5 separate regions of the Homo sapiens genome follow, and all the other regions are linked to region 1. The links are contacts of gene promoters, found by promoter capture Hi-C in blood cells and fetal thymus (Javierre and others, 2016). All regions are on one chromosome and are shown on one strand. The core of a region is centred on a gene start or on the middle of the fragment in contact, and the rest is flanking DNA. Distances in the headings are between cores, read along the strand shown.

What was found. The method cuts DNA at HindIII sites, captures the fragments that hold promoters and counts their contacts. A CHiCAGO score of 5 or more calls a contact.
Region 2: a contact is called between a fragment that was not itself captured here and the fragment with the promoter of PROK2 in region 1, in 1 of 17 cell types (total B cells). The highest score is 5.0, in total B cells.
Region 3: a fragment that was not itself captured here is called in contact with the fragment with the promoter of PROK2 in region 1 in 1 of 17 cell types (naive B cells); the score reaches 5.6 in naive B cells.
Region 4: a contact is called between a fragment that was not itself captured here and the fragment with the promoter of PROK2 in region 1, in 1 of 17 cell types (naive B cells). The highest score is 6.0, in naive B cells.
Region 5: a contact is called between a fragment that was not itself captured here and the fragment with the promoter of PROK2 in region 1, in 1 of 17 cell types (naive B cells). The highest score is 6.0, in naive B cells.

The regions. Positions count from the first base shown.
Region 1 is chr3:71,782,920-71,787,154 of GRCh38, reverse strand. It overlaps PROK2 (prokineticin 2), which reads left to right and starts at 2,007. Exons shown (of 4, transcript NM_001126128.2): 1 at 2,007-2,198. The coding sequence starts at 2,103. It overlaps LOC105377156 (a long non-coding RNA gene), which reads right to left and starts at 1,765. Exons shown (of 4, transcript NR_199161.1): 1 at 1,632-1,765; 2 at 1,408-1,519; 3 at 1,122-1,218; 4 at 728-938. The HindIII fragment of the contact is 4,477 bases long and covers 1-3,666 here.
Region 2 is chr3:72,753,306-72,757,540 of GRCh38, reverse strand. The region is part of intron 10 of SHQ1 (SHQ1, H/ACA ribonucleoprotein assembly factor); the gene reads left to right. Among named protein-coding and RNA genes, the nearest start is that of SHQ1, 93 kb to the left of the region's middle. The HindIII fragment of the contact is 489 bases long and covers 1,696-2,184 here.
Region 3 is chr3:72,734,650-72,738,884 of GRCh38, reverse strand. It overlaps a transcript of SHQ1 not described here. Among named protein-coding and RNA genes, the nearest start is that of SHQ1, 110 kb to the left of the region's middle. The HindIII fragment of the contact is 3,351 bases long and covers 467-3,817 here.
Region 4 is chr3:72,695,488-72,699,722 of GRCh38, reverse strand. All of the region lies in intron 2 of LOC105377161 (a long non-coding RNA gene), which reads left to right. Among named protein-coding and RNA genes, the nearest start is that of SHQ1, 150 kb to the left of the region's middle. The HindIII fragment of the contact is 854 bases long and covers 1,544-2,397 here.
Region 5 is chr3:72,665,559-72,669,793 of GRCh38, reverse strand. The region is part of intron 5 of LOC105377161 (a long non-coding RNA gene); the gene reads left to right. Among named protein-coding and RNA genes, the nearest start is that of SHQ1, 180 kb to the left of the region's middle. The HindIII fragment of the contact is 163 bases long and covers 2,426-2,588 here.

The DNA of each region.
Region 1 (4,235 bases), core at 758-3,257:
AGACTTCATTTTTCAAACTTGGCCTCAGATACAAAGATGACATATCAAGAGCCTTCATTTCTCTCCTAAAGCATTAAAGCAATTAAAATTTCCAAAAGAACATGAAACTAAACAACCCTATTTTTAAGTGTTTCCAAACTTATTTCTTTTTTTTAAACTTGTTTCAAAACAGCCTTATGAGGACTGTTTTCCAAACAGCTGTGTAAGAAGCCAGCCACTTTTGAAATCTGATTTTTCCTGTGTAGACATATCATATTTTCTATGCTTGAAGAAGCAGGGAATACCCAAGCTGGCATTCAATAGTAGCGAATATGAAATAGACCATTAAAAGAAAGTCATAGGAATGTTAAAATCCATGTTGACTGGTTTTTACATTTACCCGGCAGCATTCCCGAGCTAGCGTTGGCATGGAGACTGGAAAAGGAAACTTTCCACAAGTCTGTCACTTGCTACTGTTTCTACTTACTCCACTGTGAGTCCAATTTTAACATTTTTTTAAGTTGAAAAAAGGGTTTGACTCCTTTTGTGTTTTCTGTTCAAGGCGTTTTTTAAACATGAGAACACGTGTGAAAAAGGTTTTTAAAAATCAGCCAAAGATTGGGGTTTCCAAATATTCAGCTGTTTAACATTCAGATAATTGCCTGCCTTCCCCCCGCTATCCCCCACATTTCGTCTGAATGCTTTGGCACGGGGGAGCCCCACAGTCTGAAAGTAACTCTGTCCCAACTCTCCTTACTGCATTTATTAAAGAGGCTGAAAGACGCATCTGCTTTTCAATAGTTTGCGGTTCTTAAGAGACCAGGAAAGCCAGAGGTTCTGACTATTCAGGAAGAAAGTTGGGTTTCCCAAAACGGGCAAGCAAGTTCGGTGTGGTCACATCTAGGTATTCTTGACGTCATTTTTGTTGAGGGAAACAGGCTGCAGTTTTTGGAGCCAGGCTAGGATGAGAGATGGAGGGCAAATCTGTCACTTATTCTTTCCTGGTGTGCCTGGAACCCACTAGACACTCAATTCATGTTTACGTGAATGAAGGAATCACAATAACGCCCTATCGCATCTGTAAAACCGAAGGGTGATTTTCCTGGGCTGGAAAGTTTAAGAAAGAAGAGAGAGCTGCGTACCTAGGGCTTAAGGGGCCTCAGGCTGGCACTCGAAACCAGGCGTTCTCATTTCCCTTTGGCATCACCCTGAACGGCTGTGCCTGGAGCTGGCGCGGGGCTGAAGAGGGGAGGAAATACATGTGAGGAAAATCAGAGGAGAGGGTCGGGAACAGATGTGGGCATAAAGGGAAGGCCTCTGACTTGAAATAAACAAATAGGAGTCCCGCAGCTGGAAGGACAAATCCTTTCACGTCGCGGGTGATGTGGGATTGGGGCGATTTTGCTCTCCCTTTGTTCTTTCCCCTGCCTTCCACGTTTCCAGGGTATTTGATTGATGTCTGTCTTCTCTGTTAAGTTATTCCACCGTGAGGAGAGAGCCGGTGGCAGTACCTGGCACGCAGCGGGCGCCCAGTATAGACCTGCTGAACAAACGAATGGATTCAGGGGCTGCTGTGTCCCCCTCACCCACCCCCCGCCCCCTATGTGTCCACAGCGCCCCGCACGTAGTAGGCGACCCCTAAACATCTGTACAGCAAATGATTTGCAAGTTTTCGGCGCTGAGCACGTGGAGCTTTGGAAACCAGGACAGCAAATGAGTGTCTCGGAGACCACAAAAGCGGTTCCGGCGCGTGCGAAAGGCGGTGGCTGGGCGACGGCGGAGGGAACGGCGCAGAGCGGGGCGCCCCGCCGGGAGCGCTGCCTGCGTGGCGCCCGAGGCGGGGGCGCGGGGGGCCGCGCATAGCACGTGCTCGTCTGGGAGCCGGCCGGGCCGAGGCGGGCGCGCGTGTGCGCGTGGGGCGTGGGGTGTGTGCCCGCGCCGTGCCCCCCGCGTGTGCTGCCGGGCGGGCGCCGGCGTGAGTCACGGCGGGGCTAGCCTTTATAACGGCCCGGAGGCTCGCGGGAGCCGCCGCGCCCGTCCGCCCGCCGCTCCGCGCTCCACCCAGCGCACCCGGGCCCCGCGCCCCCAACTGCCTCCGGCGGCCGCCCAGTCCCGAGGGCGCCATGAGGAGCCTGTGCTGCGCCCCACTCCTGCTCCTCTTGCTGCTGCCGCCGCTGCTGCTCACGCCCCGCGCTGGGGACGCCGCCGTGATCACCGGGGTAAGCGGCCCGGGCGCACCTGTCTGCCCCTGATGCGCGCCTGGGATGTGCCCAGGGGGCTTGGGACGGGGACCCTGAAGGGCAGGCTAGAGGCAAAGGGAGGGTCGCCCTGGGCGGGGACACCTGCCCCTGTCGCCCCTTGGTGCACTTGGGAAAATACCCAGATCCAAAAGCAGCAGACGGCTGGGGACACTGGGCGCGTCCTGGAAGAAACAGTGACAAGGATGTCGCCCACCACCTTTATTACCACCTTCTCCCGCTTACTTCTCCCTCATCACCCACGGCCTCACTCCTCGCATTTTTCTTCTGTTAGGCTGAAAGAAGTTTCTCTCTGAGTCTTCTCAAGTACTTTTGGAGGCTCTCCAACCTCGAACCTTAAAATTTGACGGCCCCTTCCTGAAATGCAAAGGACCAAGACGAATTCCCCAAGTGCCCAGAGTCTTAATCCTACAGTCAAAGAGTTTGCTCCCCGATGCGTCCTCCGCAGAAACCCTTTGAAATCGCTTGGTCCAGGGCCATGTGAGCGCTTTGAAAAGCAATTGTGGGAGCTTCCTTCTGGGTTCCGGGGCTTTCCCCCGCGCTCAGGGTCTTGAGGTATCCCCATAAAAGTTTTAAATTTCTAATTCCTGGCAAAGCACCTCCAGTGCTCCAGCATAATGATGGAGTAGGTTGCTGTGTAGATGTTTAAACTTAGAGACGATGTTTTCATCTTTTCTGTAAGTAGGAACTAGTTCAGTTCTCTCCCACTCTCAACAATTTTGTGTGGATCTGAAAAAATTGGGTTTGCAGTACAATACTAAATAGTCTAGTTTACATTAACAAGGCAAAACTGCTATCATTTCCTGGTTGTTCAACTTCTTTACTGTTTTTTAAGTGAGGAATTATTTCACACCTTCATTAAATTACTTCAAATATTTAAGTGCACATAATGGGATTTAAATAAAACGTCTATGTTTGAAATGTTGATACATAGATAATATCATTTGACTTTAAAGGAAGTATCTTTGTCTTGAAAAAATCAAGCTCTATTTTCTCTATATTAGTTATTAGGTTTATAGAATTTTGAAAGTCCTTTTGCTATGACAGCATTTGTATATATCCAACAGATATTTAACTGTAAGCTCTGTGATATTTATTAGAAAAGAGATTTTTTCAAAAAATTACTTGCATAGCTTTGCCAGTCCATGTGGTTGAGAAAAACTTTTTGCAGGTCTTTCTAATACATGAGAATTGAAACATGATTGGATTTTTTTCTCCCTCTTCTCCTGCTGGCTCATTTAAAGTTTCTCCTAATCCTCTGAGCCCAAGATCCCTTTGCAATATAAGTATCTTTTTGTTCCATTCACAGGACAACACTATCTGAATAGATTTGCAATGGGTTAAGGATGAAGGGCATTAGGAAACAGCTGTCTAATTAAAAATATATAAACCTATGCAACTCTTTGTAAATTTTCCAAGAACTGAAGCTTTTGTTACAAAATAAAATTTTATCACATTGGCTGTCTATCTGTTAGAGAGGCTTAGACTGGGCTTATTATATAGTTATGTGTGCTGTTTTTGTTGTTGTTATTTTAACTCAGTGTTACAAAAAGAGAATTTTAAAAATGTCTCTAAAGCAACAGGGCAATAAAATGTAGTTATGTCTCCATGACAGGAACCATCTGGATTCAAATGAAAAACTCAGTAACTTATCAAGATACATTGTGTATAGCATGTTAAACATCCAGGTGATTGAATTTTAAAAGATTTTGGCTGGATTTTTGATTGGTTCATAAAAAAAAGCTCATGGGGCCTCAAAATTCGAGGTATTGAGCATCTGTTGAAATAAAATGCTGGCTAAAACTTTCACCTGACATCCACAGTTTTTTGGGTAGTGTATGTAGGTATTTTGAAATTGATTTATATGCCCACATAGATTTGTTAAAACTATATTGTAAAAGATCATTGACTAGACATCTTATTTATGGGATGTAATGGCTACATATACATGATTTCTGGCATGCAGATAAAAATTGGAAAATTGAAACATTTACATAT
Region 2 (4,235 bases), core at 691-3,190, 970 kb before region 1:
GCACGTACCCGTAGTTCCACCTACTTGGGAAGCTGAGGCAGGAGGGCTGCTGAGGCCAGTAGTTCAACATTGTATTGTGGTATTACTGCTCCTTTGACTACTGGTCTCCAGCCTGGGCAATGCAGTGAGACCCCATCTTTCAAAAAAAAAAAAAAAAAAGGAAAGAGAAGAAATTTGATCTACTGTTTGGTCCCAGATAGAACCTGAGATTGTGTGTTTTGTATGCTATGAAATTAAAAGGCCGAGTTAGCCAGTAAGCATCCAGTTTGAACTGTCTGGAATTGCCTCACTGGAGTCTTGTCCTCTGTGATCAATTGTGGGCTCTAGTCTCAGTATGTCATGCCTGGCAGGCTTCTAGGTTTGGGCAGAGGAAATGAAACCTAGTCGGTTACTCTGAGATTTATAGTAGACCTGCTATTGCAGGAAGTGGTGAAAAGTTGATTGATAGTTTGAGACAAAACTCTACAGCAAAAAAACAGGATGTATGCTTTCCATTTATACCCAGTTCCCCCTGCCCCTACATTTCAGGCTCCTTTTGCATTTTGTTTTGGTTGCTTCATAAGGCTGCGGAGGCTTTCCCCCTCCTACAGTCACCAAATGTAAAATAATTGAGGAAATTTTGTATCAGCTTAGCCATAGTAAAGGCAAGTACTTTCTGCTGTTGCAATTACTCTTTCGTGGTAGTTACATGTAGCATAACTTGTCTGCAGTCTTTAAAGAGAAATTCTCCAAATAGGATATTATTTCACATATGCAGAAAGAATGAAAGGTCTTTTTTAAGTTACATTGTAGGATTACATTTCCAGTAACTTTCTAAGAAAAATCTATTTTGAGTGTGGTTTTATTAAAATATGACAGCAGTGGTATCCAATTGTCTCTTTTAAATGCAGCGTCTCTTCATTCTATAATAAATATATTCTTAACAGGTAGGTGATCCTCACTTAGATATAAAACATGTAACTAGCCAGGCATGGTGGCTTACTCCTGTAATCCCCAGCACTTTGAGAGACCAAGGTGGGTGGATCACTGTGAGGTCAGGAGTTTGAGACCAGCCTGGCCAACATGGCAAAACCCCATCTCTACTAAAAATAACAAAAATTAGCCGGGCGTGGTGGCGCATGCCTGTAATCCCAGCTACTCGGGAGGCTGATGCAGGAGAATCACTTGAACCAGGGAGGTGGAGGTTGCAGTGAGCTGAGATCGCTCCACTGCACTCCACACTCCAGACTGGAAGGCAGAGTGAGAGTCTGTCTCAAGAAAAACCTAACCAGACAAACAAAAAACATATACTATAACTAGTAACTCAGCCTATGTGTTTGTTGAGAGTATCAAAATGTACCATGCCCAGGGCTGCCGCTCATGCCTGTAATCACAGAACTCTGGGAAAGCCAAGGTGGGAGGATCACTTGAGCCCAGGAGTTGGAGACCAGCCTGGGCAACATAGGGAGAACCTGTCTTTACAAAAAATATAAAAATTAGCTGGGTGTGGTGGCATGTGCCTGTAGTCCCAGCTACTCAGGAGGCTGAGGTGGGAGGATCACTTTTGCCCAGGAGGTCAAAGCTACAGGGAGCGCTGATTGCACCACTGCACTCCAGAGCCCAGGCAATAAAGCGAGAACCTGTCTCTAAATAAAGAAATAAATAGTACCTGATGTTTGTAAGAGTGGTTATCTAATAATGCCATTTGACCAAGCTTTTGGACATGAACTAGCCTAGTCAGTTTTGAGTACGACAGAGAAAAACTACTACCTACCTTAAGTGAGCTGCTTTCTGAAAAGGTAAGTCTGTTACAAAAGTAGATTGTGTAATTGACAAGGAGTGGCAGATTAGAACCAACTCTAATTGTACTAGTGGTTGAAAAAAACAAAACAGCTACTCTTTCATGGCTTAATTTTTTTTCCCTACAGGAATAATTTCCCTTTTTGTGAACAGTGATTGCTAGGTTATCTGTGCTAAGTAATTGAATAAAAACAAACCCAACTTTAATTCCTCAGACTACTGGGGCACATTCTACACCAATGCTATTTTGAAATTTTAATCAGTTTTTATCCTAGCATTCTTTAAGAATGGGAGAGAGTTCAGAATGTTTCTTTTATTAAAGTTTCTTTCAGAACTTTAGTATTAATTTAGGAAGCTAGCCAGCTTGAGGTATTAAAGGTGGGATAATAAAATAGAAATGAAGCTTGGCAAAGGATCAAAAATCAATTTATCTGTCTATCTATCTATCATCCATCCATCTATCCATCCATCCATCCATCCATCCATCTATCCATCTATCCATCCATCCATCCATCCATCAACTTATTGTATAACCTGGTAATTTTAAACATAATATAATGCCGAAAGTGAAAAACTTTTTCCTGAAGGATAAAAGTTCGCATCAGCTGGTTACAGGCAGGAGTTCCTGTTTGGGCCCCTGGACTCAGCTTCACCACTTTTCTGCCTGTTACACTTGTTACTTTCAGTCCCCCTGTGTGTGGGGTATGCTTTCTGAGAAGAGCCAGGATTCTAGGGGAGGAGCTTTGGAATTCCACATTTCTACTGTTATAAAAGACAGGACACAATATCTGTATAGTAGACAATAACAAAGATCCAAATAATATCAACTTGAGAATTGGCATGTTTAATATATTCAGCAATATTCACAAAAATGATTCAAATTTTACCCTTGTTTTCTAAACCTCCATAGATGATGCTTATATGTATACTTCATTTAACATTGTTAAGCTAAATATATTAGTCACAGTTCCTTTGGAGGATTCTGGGCTTTGTGCAAGTCAGAACTTGCTCAGTTGGAAGATGCTGAGTGGAGCTCAAGTTAGGAAGAAGTAAAGAATGTGGCCTTAAGAAAGGACACTTTGGCCAGGTGCAGTGGCTCATGCCTGTAATCCCAGCACTTTGGAAGGCCTAGGCGGGCAGATCACCTGAGGTCGGGAGTTCAAGACCAGCCTGACCAACATGGAAAAACCCTGTCTCTACTAAAAATATAAAATTAGTCGGGCATGGTGGCTCATGTCTGTAATTCCAGCTACTCGGGAGGCGGAGGCAGGAGAATCTCTTGAACCCAGGAAGTGAAGGTTGTGGTGAGCCGAGATCGTGCTGTTGCACTCCAGCCTGGGCAACGAGAGTGAAAATCCATCTCAAAAAAAAAAAAAAGAAGAAGAAAAAGAAGAGAAGAACACTTTGCAGAGCCTGTATATTCATGGGAGGCCCTTTGGTGGAACGGGAAGAGGGCTGGAGTTTTGAGGCTTGGGTTTCCAGTCGTGACCGCCCCTTGTTGGCTGAGTGAACCTCAGCGGCTCTCCTACCCCTGCAAGCTCTAGTTCCCTCATCTGTAATGTAGGGATAACAATGGCACTGATTCACAAGGTGGTTAATGGAGCAAGTGCAGTGATGTTAGTGGAGCATCATCCTTTGTATATTGTTGAGAAGTATTTGTCATGACAATTAAAATGAGATATATAGTCAGTAAAGTAAAAGCTTTTATTTTATATTTTTTATTTCTAGTATTAGAGTTAGAGGCAGTATCCACTTTCCCAAATTTATTACTCTTTATTTCTTAAGTTGTGTGTCACTACCCAGAGAGAACTCCCCTTCATGGAGAAACAGAGTGGTGTACTAGTTCTTTGACTGAACTTTGCAGCAGCTCAGACTGAATCCTTTACCACTGGTAGTCAAGGTTTCAAAATATATGGTGGACATTATCTACAACTGTCTTGGGTATAAATGCAAATTATGTTGCAGCCGTCATATTCCATAGCTATGCTTTTAAAAATGCCTCAGACTGATAAAAGATTAGCCAGGGGTTATAATGCTTTGGTGAATCATTAACTGACTCTAGTGGATCTCACCTTGGTTTTCCTCTTTACCCTAAACCCCTCCCTTTCTCTAAGCGCTCTGGAAGTTCTGGCACTGAAACCCAGGGCTAAGAGAAAGCTACCCATCAACGATGGTGACTGCCCTTGTCCCACTCACCGCACTGTGCCTCCCGCTCACCCTTGGACACTGCAGTGGTGCTTCTGTGGCCTGATTACACATGTGAAGAGGCAGCAGGGGTTGTGGGGGGTGGGGGGCAATCCCTGCACAATCTCATTATTGTGCTGAGTACTTTGAGAAATAGCATTTCAGGTACATGCAGGCACCCAGATTAAAATACCATCTTTGTTCGGTATTTCCCATTGTACCATCAGCTCCACTGAAATGAAGCCTCATTTTCCTGATATTATGGGATGGAC
Region 3 (4,235 bases), core at 893-3,392, 950 kb before region 1:
ACTGCGCGTGCGCGCGGACCGGGCGGGGCGGGGCCCAGGGCAGGTGCCTGGAGGAGGGTCTCCCAGCGGCAGGGGCAGACGCCAAGCTTGCTGAGGCTGGAGTGTATGCTTAATCACAGTCGACTGAGGGGCTGTTTAAGAATTGTAAGAAGCTGTTCCAGGTGAAGTTCTGAGCAGAGCTACAGAAGGTCGCGGTCTGGAAGCTGCTGGGAGGAGAGGGGCGACATCAGTGGCTTTCGTTGGGGGAAGGCACCCGCAGGATTTCCTGGGATGGGGAAACAATAACCTGGAATACGAGGAGGCTGTCCTAGAAGAGTCAGATTGCCCACTCCCATCCCACCCCCATCCCCAAGCTGATGAAATTGGCGCGAAGCAGATCCCTAAATTCACAAGCTTATCTAATTCCTGCCAATAACACAGTATTTCTGTTTCTGCGGATACCTGGCTCTCGGGGCACATTGAAGCTTCACCTGGAGAGGATGGAACAGAGAAGACGATCAAAAACAGGGCCTTCCTGGAACCAAATGCCAATAACAGCCCTCAGGTGCCTAGCTAGCCCTTTACAGATTGCAAAGGGCTTTCTTCTACCTTGCCTCGTTTTCAGCAGGGGCAGGCAAGTGATCCCATTTTAAAGCGAGGAACCCGAGAGAGCTCAGGCTTTTCCCAGGTTGGGCACAGGGTGCAGTGGGAACTAAGGACTCAGTGAGTAGGGGTCACCCAGGGAGCCATGGAAGATCTCCCAAAGAAAGGATGAACAGGAGTTGGATGAGCAGAGGGACGTTAGGGTGGGGTGTTCATGTCTCAGGTGGAGAGATGTGGTGGGTGAGGGAACAAGATTGCTCAGGGTGGCTGAACACGGGAGGGTTAGCAGAGCTGGGGAATTGGGGGGCAACCCACGGAAAGACACATCCACTTGTGGGCCCAGATCAGCATTGTGTCACATTAAGAAAAAGGGAGAACTCAATTCACTATCCATAGTAATTGAAAAGCAATTGAATATTTATTGTAGCCTCTGGTGCACTTCATTTGTAAGGCACAGCCAATACAGCTGGCCCTCCATATCCATGGGTTCCACGTTCCTGGATTCAGCCAGCTGTGGGTGGAAAACCACTCAGAAAAAATAAAAAGGATAATTCCATACTGAACATTCACAGACTTTTTTTCGTGTCATTATTCCCTAAACAGTACCGTGTAACAACTATTTCCATAGCACTTACATTGTATTAGGTATTATAAGTAATCTAGCGATGACTGGAAGTATATAGGAGGATGCACATAGGTTATATGCAACTTCTATGCCAATTTTTATCAGGGACTTGAGCATTGGCAAATTTTGGTATCCTGGGGGTCCTGGAACCAATCGCTTGCAGATATTGAGGGACAGCTGCATTGTAAAAATCTTCTTTTTCTTTCTTTCATTCTCTTACTCTCTTATCCTAGCCACTGCCCCCAAAGATGCATCTTTCCCCTTCCAAATTTCCCCAGTTCTCCTTCAGACTCTGCCTTCAGAGGGTTCCTGCCTCTCCTCTCCTTCTCCCCTTCCGTGGCTGTGGTTTTAACCCTACAGTACCTTTTTAATTAATTAATTATTATTTTTTCTTTTTTGGGAGACAGAATCTTGCTTTGTCGCCCAGGCTGGAGTACAGTGGCACGATCTCAGCTCACTGCAACCTCTACCTCCTGGGTTCAAGCAATTCTCATGCCTCAGTCTCCTGAGTAGCTAGGACTACAGATGCACCCCAGCACACCCGGCTAATATTTTTATTTTTTTATTTTTAGTAGAGATGGGGTTTCATTATGTTAGGCCAGCTGGTCTCGAACTCCTGAGCTTAGGCAATCCACCCACCTCAGCCTCCCAAAGTGCTAGGATTACAGGCATGAGCCACCACCCCCGGCCTAACCCTACAGTACCCTTAGATTTCCTTCCCAGTATAAACTCTGCTTTCCCTGTGGCTTTTTGCACTTCGGAAAGTGGAAAGAGATTAGTGCAGGAGTCAGCAAACCAGGGCACTGAGGCCATATCCATCCCACTGCCTGTTTTTGTATAGCCTGCAAACTGAGGATCTTTTAATTTCTTTTTTTTTTTTTTTTTGAAACGGAGTCTCACTCTGTCACCCAGGCTGGAGTGCAGTGGCACAATCTCGGCTCACTACAACTTCTGCCTCCTGGGTTCAAGCAATTCTCTTGCCTCAGCCTCCCAAGTAGCTGGGATTACAGGTGCCTGCCACCATTCCTGCCTAGTTTTCTTGTAATTTTAGTATAGATGGGGTTTCACCATGTTGGCCAGGCTGGTTTCAAACTCCTGACCTCAAGTGATCCATCTGTCTCGGCCTCCCAAAGTGCTAGGATTACAGGCATGTGCCACCGTGCCCAGCCCAAACTGAGGATTTTTTTAAAAAAATTTTTAATGATTGAAAAGAATTTATGGAGATGTCTTTTCTCTTTTGTTATGTAGGTACTTACCTAATAGCCTTGATTCTGCCCCTTGGTCCATAAAACTTAGAATATTGTACCATCTGGACCTTTACAGAAAAAGGTTGCCAATCCCTGGTTTAAGAGAAGGGGTTTGTGAATACCTATCCAGTAGCATTTTGGATGCCTGGCCCATGGCTTCTGGGGTTTCCATGCCCTCCTGGGGGAGGCTGTGCAGAAAGCTGGGACAAGAGGAATGAGGCTGATACTACCCCGAATCCCACCACAGGGGTGGTCCCATGGCTCAGGTCTGGCCAATCAGAGTACCCTGTTCTTCTGGCCACAGTGATTGGTTCAGCAATAAGCAGGTGTCTCAAGCCTAGTCAATCAAAGTCCTCTTGGGGCTTTGGCCAGAGCTACTAGAAATGATACTTTTTCTGAGTTGGTAAGCTGGAAGGAAGCCATTATTCAGAGGATGATTATCTTTGTATCTATGTGAGGAAAACCTTTCTGGAAAAGAAATTGCATATACCAGAAAGCAGACATGGAAGGAAGAAGGGAGGAAGAGAGAGAGAGAGAGAGATTGACACATTTGACATTGTTTGAGACTCAGCACCCAGCCACCCCTAAAGCTCCTTCCACCCTGGACCTTCAGTCATGCAAGCCAGTAAAATGCCTGCCTGCCTGCCTGCCTGCCTGCCTGCCTGCCTGCCTGCCTGCCTTCCTTCCTTCCTTCCTTCCTTCCTTCCTTCCTTCCTTCCTCTCTCTCTCTCTTTAGCTGAATTGGGCAGAGTTCAGTTACTTGTATCCAAACACATTCTGAGCAATATATGGGCTTTACCAGGTACTTTGGAACCTTGGATTTCTCCCCTTGGTACCCACAACCCCTGCCATGTAACTTTCAGTGCCCTCTCACTCTGACTCTGGACTCCAAGTGACTTGCTTTGGCCAATAGCATGTTTGCAAACATTATGTAGACACAGTGGGACTTGTATTGTCTTTAGTAGCCCTTGGAGCTCCTCCAAGCCCATATAACAGTCCCAGTCTGGGCCACTACATGATGATAGACATATAGAGCCAAGATGAGCCTTCCCATCCTCTTGACCAACAAGCCTCGAGCTAGGATGGCTGGAAGCCAACTGTAGGCACATGAATGATCACAGCAGAGGCCAGCGGAAGAACCGCCCCCACTGAGCCCAGCCCACAGAATTATGAGATAAACAAATGGTAGGTGTTTTAAAGCACTAAGTTTTGGGGTGATATGTTAGGCAGCAAAAGCTGATCCATAGGCAAAAGGTGAAAAAAGGATTATGAAAGGCTCTAAAGGAGAGCAGCTTATCACTTGCTGGCACTTTTAGTGTATAAGAAAAACAAAGCACCGTAGTATTGAAATATTGCCCAAGCTTAAAACAACCACAGTTCTAGAACACCAACACTTAAACAAGCAGTCTGGAACACATACTGAATTCCTTGGCAGGAACCCCACTGAGAAATCCACGCCTGGCACTCCCATTCCACAGCCATACTGGGCAGCTCCTACTGCAGGGATCATGGCCGGCACAAATGTTGTCTCTAGGATGAGGGGATCAGGTACATCTGTGAAAATGTAGAATTCCTCTTACTTGTGTCGTAAAGGCATGACAGTAAGAGTTAAAATGCAATAGTGCGACGATCCCTGGTGGTCTACTGGTTAGGATTCAGTGCTCTCAAAATGCAATAGCATATTGAGCACCTACTGTATTCATAATGTTCACAGCAACCATGTTTTTCTTCTATAGGTCTGACTTAGTACACTTTCATTCTCATTTATTAGGGGTGAATTG
Region 4 (4,235 bases), core at 721-3,220, 910 kb before region 1:
AGACAGTGGACTTAATGGATGGCCATTGAGGTATCTTATATGGGCAAATTCTACAAAACCATGTGACCACACATGCACATACTGTGAGGGCTTTTGGAAGGGGTCCAGGTCTTGATGCAGGATAAATCTGCCTCTACCTCCCTGCCTAGGGTGCAGGCTCCGTGGGTACCAGGACAGTGCCCAGTGCAGGGGCTAACACATAGTAGTTGCTCCATAAATAATAGTTTAATAGGATAGGTGCAGTGGCTCATGCCTGTAATCCCTGGACTTTGGGAGGCCGAGGTGGAAGGGTCACTCAAGTCCAGGAGTTTGAGACCAGCCTAGGCAACATAGCAAGGTGCTGTCTCTACAAAAAGTTCTTAAAAAATTAGCCAGATGTGGTAACATGTGCCTGTAGTCCCATCTACTTGGGAGGCTGAGGTAGGAGGATTGTGTGTGTCCAGGAGTTCAAGCTGTAGTGAGCTATGATTGCACCACTGTGCTGGCCAACAGAGTAAGACTCTGTCTCTAAAACAATAATAATAATAGCTTAATAAATGAACAGTGTAACAAGGATATGCCAATTAGGCAGAGAAGACTCTGATGTACTCTCCTCTCTCCTGGGTGGTGCTTGGGTAGACATCCTTTGAATTCCCTTTTTGATGATCAAGTCTCCATTAGATGGACACAATTTTTTTCTGTAAATGCACTAATATCTTTATTCTCACAGACCTGGGAGCCAGGATATGTCTTTAGAACCACTTTGCAATTTGCTGATCTGATCCATTGTGTACTGACTGTGGTTTATCTCCCAGATGGCAACTCTATCTCCATTATTTCTAAGTTCCTTGTTGGGTAGGTGGGACATCATGACCCCTACACAAGGAGCCAGGCATGGTATTGACTAACATATGATGTGTAACTGCGCAGCCTGCATGGTTGGAAGCTTCTCCACTCCCTAGCAGAATCTGATTTTGGGCAAGTTACTTAGACTCCCTGCCCCTCAGTTTTCTCAGCTATAAAATGGGGATAATGACAGTACCACCTTTCAGATTAGTGGGAAAATTCAATGAGATAAGGCATTCAAGCCCTTAGCACAATGTCTGATGATAGCTAGTGCTTAGTACATGAAGACTGTTTATGGGAAATGTAATGCTATGCCCAAAGACTGTTAATTCTATAAGGCTAAGTTTTTCTGTTGCAATCCACAGGCCTAGGGCAGCATGGAGTTAATTCTAAAACAGACTTTTTATTAGTCTCTGGGAGCTTGTGAAGTACAGATAGGGAATGCTCTAACGTGAACAAGGCACCATAAATGATGTGCTTTGTTTCCTGTAGGGGTGGTTTCCTAGTGACTCTCAGGGAGCCAGGTCCCTCTTGCCTAAACAGTGGGGCTTCCTGAGGGAAACAGCCCTCCTGTGGTGGGTCAGTCAAGAAGGAATTGCTGGCCCATGGAATGTTGTTTACCACCAACGGCTTTTGGCAACACAGAGGGGGATAAACTTAATGGATGAACTGCAGAAGCAGAGAGGCAGAGAGCATGAGTGAGCACTCCTGGCAAGCTTCATACAAGGAGGGTGCAATCTATAGAAAACAAGATTTACTGAGATGACAAACGTGTGTGAGGTAAAGAAACAAAAAGAGAAAGTGCGTGGAGTGAATATGAAGAAGGAAGGAGCAAAAGAAAGAAGTACAGGAGAAAGGCACATGAATCTAGGAGGGTCTGTCCTAAGGACAGCAGAAGCTGGAAGCGGAGTAAATAACAGAATTGACAGGCATACTTATCATTAGTCTCCATGCCTATGTCTGTGGCAGGCATCACCAGTCAATCACAGCAATCCTCCAGCTGGCCTCAGAAATAGCCTCAGAATCCTCCTCAATCCAGTGATCCAGGTTATCACTACTAAACCACCATGTTGGTGTTTGAGTTGAAACCTTCCTCTTGTTTGGGTTATAAGCTCTTGCCAAACATTTAGGAAGAAAACTTGGACCAGAAAAGCAGATCAAGGCAATGAGGACACAAGAGCAGTAAGGAAGGGGGCGTTCGGACTGCCACATTCCTGGCTGAAGGGCAGAAGGAGTGGGCCCTTTGCAGTCTCAGAGACTGGAGCTCTGTCTCCAACCCTGTTCCACTTATCAGACAGTCCCATTTCCCTGACAGTAAAATAGGGAGATGAAGGGGCTGGATTGAAGCCATAGCCTCAGAGTTGAGTATAGGAGATCCTTGGAGATGGAACATAGAGAGAAAAAAGGCTTATTCTAGTCATCTCTAGCAGTGGCTTGAAATAGTAGGTGCTCAATAAAAAATCATCGAAAGAATTGAGCAAGGAATGTGCAGGGCTGGAAAAGAATATTGATTCACCACTGGTGGGAGCGATGTACCCTTTTGGAAGGATGCCGTGGACCTATATATAAGCTTAAAAATGTGGAGAACTTTTGACCTTTATTTCTAGGAATTTATCCTAGGGAGAATTGCTTGACCCTGATAGGTGGAGGTTGCAGTGAGCCGAGATTGCCCCACTGCACTCCAGCCTGGGCAAAAGAGCGACACTCCATCTCAAAAAAAAAAAAAAAAAAAAAAATTCTCCGCCTGAAGTGTGTTTTTTATGCTTATAACAAGCAAAGGGTCAGACTTTTGCTGAGGACAGGTAAAATCAAAATGCGCATGCTCCCTACAGGGGAGATTCCCAACTGGAGGGAGCTTTGCTTGAATGAGCTTGACTACAGTGAGGATGCTGGGGCTTATTGTGTTGACCGTAGGTCCCCACTGTTGCTGTGTCCTGAGGACATGGTTACTTCCTTGACTACCTAACCTGCTTCAGGTGAAGACCACACAGCCGTTAAAAATGATGCTGCCTAGAAATGTTTAATGACAGGGGACTACATTTATGTCATTAGTGAATAGAAAAAAGTTATTAAAAAAGCAAGTACTTACTGAAAAAAATTAAATATATTTATGCACAGTAAAAACAATTGGAAGTATATGGGCCAAAATGTTAAAAAATATTTATCTGAAGGTAGTTGTATGATAGGTGGTGTTTAGTTTTTCCTCCTACTTTTCTATGTTTAAAACATTTTTTCACAATAAGCAAATTAGTTTTGTAATAATTAGAAGGTTTAAGAATAATTGACAAGCTGGGCATCGTGGTGTGCACCTGTAGTCCCAGCTGCTCCGAAGGCTGAAGTGGAAAGATCATTTCAGCCCAGGAGTTCGAGGCTGCAGTAAGCTGTGATTGCACCACTGCACTCCAGCCTGGGCAACAGAGCAAGACCCTGTCTCTAAATAAATACATACTTTTTTTATTTTTTATTTTTATTTTTAAATTTACAGCAACACCAGCCTGAAAATTAATTTTTTAATTAAAAAAAAGATCGACAGGCATTTATACTTGGTCATTTTTACACAGAGACATGCCCTTATACACATGGTATATGTGACTTTAGATATCTGAACTCTTTTGGCTACTTTAATCATGATGTGCAATTAGCTAATGTTTAATAGGCATGAACACTTAGTATGTAAATGCCAGGCACTGTGTGAAGCTTGCTTCATGTTTGCCTCATTTAACTCTCACAGCAGCACTGGGAGGGAGGTTCTGCTGCCCTCTCCGTTTTAGGTATGAGGAAACCGAGGCACAGGGCATAAGTTACCCACTCCTCCCACCCCCCTCCCCTGGCTGCTGAGGGCTGAGAGCTGAGGCAGACAGGCTATCTCCAAAACTCACACTGTCAACTTTCTGTTGCTGCCTCCAGAATCTTAGCAGGAAATTGTCAACATTCTAAGATTGAACCAAGGGGGATTAAGTAATCACGTTTGCAGTAATTTTGAGAGCCCAAAATTAAATTCACATTTTTGTGTACGTGTGTGAGTTCTTGTCAGGAAAGAAAATGATAGAATTAAAGTATCATGAGAAGATTCCTTTTTATAATGAAGCCTTCCTCGCCTGCTTTCTGTTACCCAGGCTGACACATTACAGCAATAAAAAGTGCCTGAAAAGGCTGTGCCTCATGGTATATCAGCTTGGAAAGGATGAGAGATAGTGCACTGAAAGCCCCTTGCTTTAGTCAGCTGTTTTCCTTGTCCTGCATACAGGTCTTCGAAGTTGCCCGCTGCATTGGAGAACCACTGAGAGTCATATATATTTATTGTTTCTGAATGGCATCTGTAGTTTCAATGTCCCAGCAGAGCGTTTTAAGGAAATTGGGCCTTCAGGGTGGACAGATGGAGGGGAACCTTCTCCGGCCATCCTAGCTGA
Region 5 (4,235 bases), core at 1,258-3,757, 880 kb before region 1:
TCTCCTGACCTCGTGATCCGCCCGCCTCAGCCTCCCAAAGTGCTGGGATTACAGGCGTGAGCCACCGCGCCCGGCCCATAAATTTGTTTAATATTTTGACAGCTGTATCGTGAGTTCTCTGCAATCCTATGTATTTTGTTTTGTGCATTTAAAACCATTAGTTTGAAAAGGGATCGATTGCTTCACTGATACCAACAGGATTCATGGCACAAGAAAAGATCAGAAACTGTGCTTTGGAGCATGTGGGCTCTTTGTGCCTAATGTCTAGCTTGGGGCTTAGGCCACAATGCTAGGACTAAAGGAAAAGTCATCTTCAACTTCCTGTCACCCATAGGCAGAGGGACTCCATGTCATGGTTTGCCTGGGACAGTCCCTTTTACTCCAGCTGTCTGGACTTCATTATTCACATTGCTCCCTTTCATTCTTAAAGTCACCATGGTTTGGAGTAGGTGGAGTGGTCATTCACACGTTTGTGGTAAGATTGGAAGAATCTCTTGCTTACCTAGTGCCTGAAATCCCACTATTGTTTTGGGTTAAGCATTGCAATAGGATCTTGCTTAAAATGCAGAGTCGTGTGATTGATTGTGTGTATGTGCACTCACTTGTGTGGGTGTGGGGGGAATGGGTGAATACCATGAGTCCTAGTTTGAATTGGTTTTTCAGATTGCATTCCTGAATAGTGGGGAGGACCTGGACAAAGTTAAACCCACGAAGTGGGGAGGGGGATCCATGGGAGGAAGACGTTTGGCCTCTCTCAGCCCCACGAGGTCCCCGAGGGAGAGTTCCCAGACTAGGCTGGCCTCGGACCCAAAGCAGACAGATGAACCTTGTGACTTTTGGCCCTGGGCAGGCGCCTAAGCTTGGCTGTGAACTTGGTTTTACTCTGATGGTGAGAAAAGCCCAGGTAATATGTGAGCCCCTCATAAGAGCCAGTATTGCTCCCTGATACTCTCCTGGCAAACCCTCATCCTTCCCACAGTCCCTTCCAAGCAAGAGGAGGAGCACCAAGACAGGAAAGGCACCTGAGGAGGGATCAAGTCCCAGATCCCAAAGGGACCCCTCCAGGCCTTGAACAATTTGCTCATCACACTGATCGAGCCCTCCTGGGTTCCAGTGCTGCCTCCTCTCCTCCCGAGTGTCCTTGGGTGAGGTACCTTTTTGAGCCTCAGTTTCCTCATCTGTAGAATGGGGGTAAATAGTAACCATTGGGGAGTGTCCCAACTGAGACCAATGCCCCCTCATATAAGGATACTTCCAGGAGGGCTGATTTACAAAGGAGCCTGGTGTGGGGGAAGAGTAGGGAAGGTGCAGTCTCCCACAGTAGCCATGTTTCTAGGCCAGGAGGGGACAGCAGGAGGGAGCAGATACTAGAAATGGGAGGATGGGTCCCATACGGAAGGCTGCTGTGAGACGATCAGTGACTTCTGGTGGAGGGACAGGTCCAGCAGAAGTCAGGGAAGGTACCAGGGGGATAAGTACCCCAGCCTCAACCTTCTCCCTCCCTCCACTTTCCTGCCAGGGCTGTTCAACTGGTCCAACCAACAGGATGCCAGAGGCAAGAAGGCACGTTAACATAGCGCTCGCCAGTCAGACTTCTGGGCACAAAGCAGGGTGGAGAAGGGCAGAGCATGGACCTGAAGGGCAGCAGAAGCCCACCCACATGTGATCCTGTAGCTGATGGCTGAGCATTAGCCCACTAGAGCCTCGCAATAGCCCCATTCCTCATTCAGGGGCTGGCACATAAAAGTCTCATTAAATAGTCACCAAATGAATGAATGAATGCATACCTCCTACCTGCTAACAGAAGTGCCTGTGCCAGCTCCTTACTATACTGTGAACCCCAAGAGAGAGGTGTTGGGGCCAAGAGCAGCCTGAATCTACCCTGTGGCTGGCCATGAGGAAGGTATTGGACGGAACTGATGAACTTGCTTTGTGTGGAGTGTGGATGCCAAATGGCCTTGCAATGTGAATCCTTGGGACCCCACAGGCCACCAAGAACACAGAAAACTTATGTTCAAGTTCCCTTTCTCTGTTGATGTGAAGGCTATATTAGTCCATTTTCATGCTGCAATGAAGAAATACCCGAGACTGGGTAATTTATAAAGAAAAAGAGGTTTAATGGACTCACAGTTCCACATGGCTGGGGGGTCCTCACAATCATGGTGGAAAGTGAAGGAAGAGCAAAGGCACATCTTACATGGCGACAGGCAAGAGAGCGTGTGCAGGGGAACTGCCCTTTATAAAACCATCACATCTCATGAGACTTATTCACTATCTTGAGAACAGCAGAGGAAAAAGCCACCCCCATGATTCAGTTACCTCCCACCATGTCCCTCCCATGACATGTGGAGATTATGGGAGCTAAGATTCAAGACGAATTTGGGTGGGGACACAGCTAAACCATATCAGAGACAGAATGGAAGCTTCTTGGTGTGGGAATTCCAGAAGGCACAGGCAAAGCTGGTTTGTGTGGCGTTTTCAGGGGAGCCTAGATTCTACAATTTCCTTGCAGTGCTAGTGGGGAATGGCACAGAAAACCCACTGCAGTCCAGCTTTCCTTCTCTTCTTTATTACTCTTAGAGTAAGCTTATAGAGGTCATATAACTTTATTGTAAAGAAAACCAAATCAGCAATCACAAATAAGCAGAAAAGAAACAATAAAAAATGATCACTGTCATATAATTGATTAATATTTTGGTGCATATCTTTCTAGATTCTTTTCTACTCTGGCTTTCTTTTTATCAGGATCCTGTTGTTTCCAACCAAAGCCAAAATAGCTAACATGCTGGCTGAGCACGGTGGCTCACATCTGTAATCCCAGCACTTTGGGAGGCCTAGGAGGCGGGTGGATCATTTGAGATTAGGGGTTCAAGACCAGCCTGGCCAACATGGTGAAACCCTGTCTCTACTAAAGATACAAAAATTAGCCAGGTGGTAGTGGCATGTGCCTGTAATCCCAGCTACTCGGGAGGCTGAGGCAGGAGAATAGCTTGATTGGAGGTGGAGGTTGCAGTGAGCCGAGATTGCACCACTGCACTCCAGTCTGGGCGACAGAGTGAGACCCTGTCTCAGGAAAAAAAAAAAAAAAAAGCTAACATGCTTTAAGCACTTTTTCTGTGCAGGTATGGTGCAAAATACTTTACATGCACTAGCTCATTAGATTCTCATTTTTTTAATGGCGGCACAGAGAGGTTAAATGACTTGTCCAAGGGCACACAGCTAGTAAGTAAGGAAATTGGGATTTGAACCTAGGCAGGCTGATTCCAGAGCCCCCATTCTTATATGGGCTGATTGCAAACCAGGTAAGAGATAGCTAGTTTTTCGAAGATCCCATGCCACTGTCTCCTAAGTGACATGGTGCCAGCTAGTGCAATATTAATCACTGCAGCATACAGCCAAAAAAAACTTTTCAGCGCCCCAGTTGAGAAATGAACACTGAACCACAGCGCCCCCTGGCTTACATAGTAATTCTGATTGGCTCACTCTAGGGTCACACTGGCCAGCAAAAATTCAAGACAAACCTTTATTGGGCATCTACTATGTGGCGAGCTCTCTGCCAGCCATTGGGTGTAAAAAGTAGAATAAGGTATAGCTTCTGCCCTCCAGGTATTCTTGCATAGCCAGGAGAGACGCACCTAGAAGACGCACAATAGACGCACCTTCTATTGTGTCAATAGAAGGAGAGCTATGCTCTAATGGAGGGTGTGTACCCGCCAAAGCCCTGCAGACACTATGGGGGAAGGGACTTTCACAAGATCACAGAAAGATCAGGTTTCTGCTCTCACCTCCCTTGAGGCCCCCTCCTCTGATGCCACCTTGAGCTCCCTGGCCTGGCCCCAGTGATAAGATTTCCTTTGGTCCTTCCTCCCTCCAACTGAAACGTATGTGTCTTCCCACTTTTTCTCTCAGCGTGCTGCCAGATGGCCATCTCGCTAATCTCAGAACCTCATTCAAAATCAGGGGGTAATGACTTCTGAGTTTTAACAAGAGCTTTCAGAGCTGAACACCAGGAATCACAAACACAGATGCCCACGGGTTAGGCCGATAACATCAGCGCACTCAGCAGACCAGTATTTGGATGTTAAATATGCAGGAATATTCTTTACTTGCACAAAGAGATATACTCTCACCTATTTTTTTTTTCCTGAAGCACATTGTCCTTTGAGTCTATCTTTTCGTTTTCTATTCATTTTTAATAAATATTAAATACAGCTAACATGCTGTATTTAAATGAG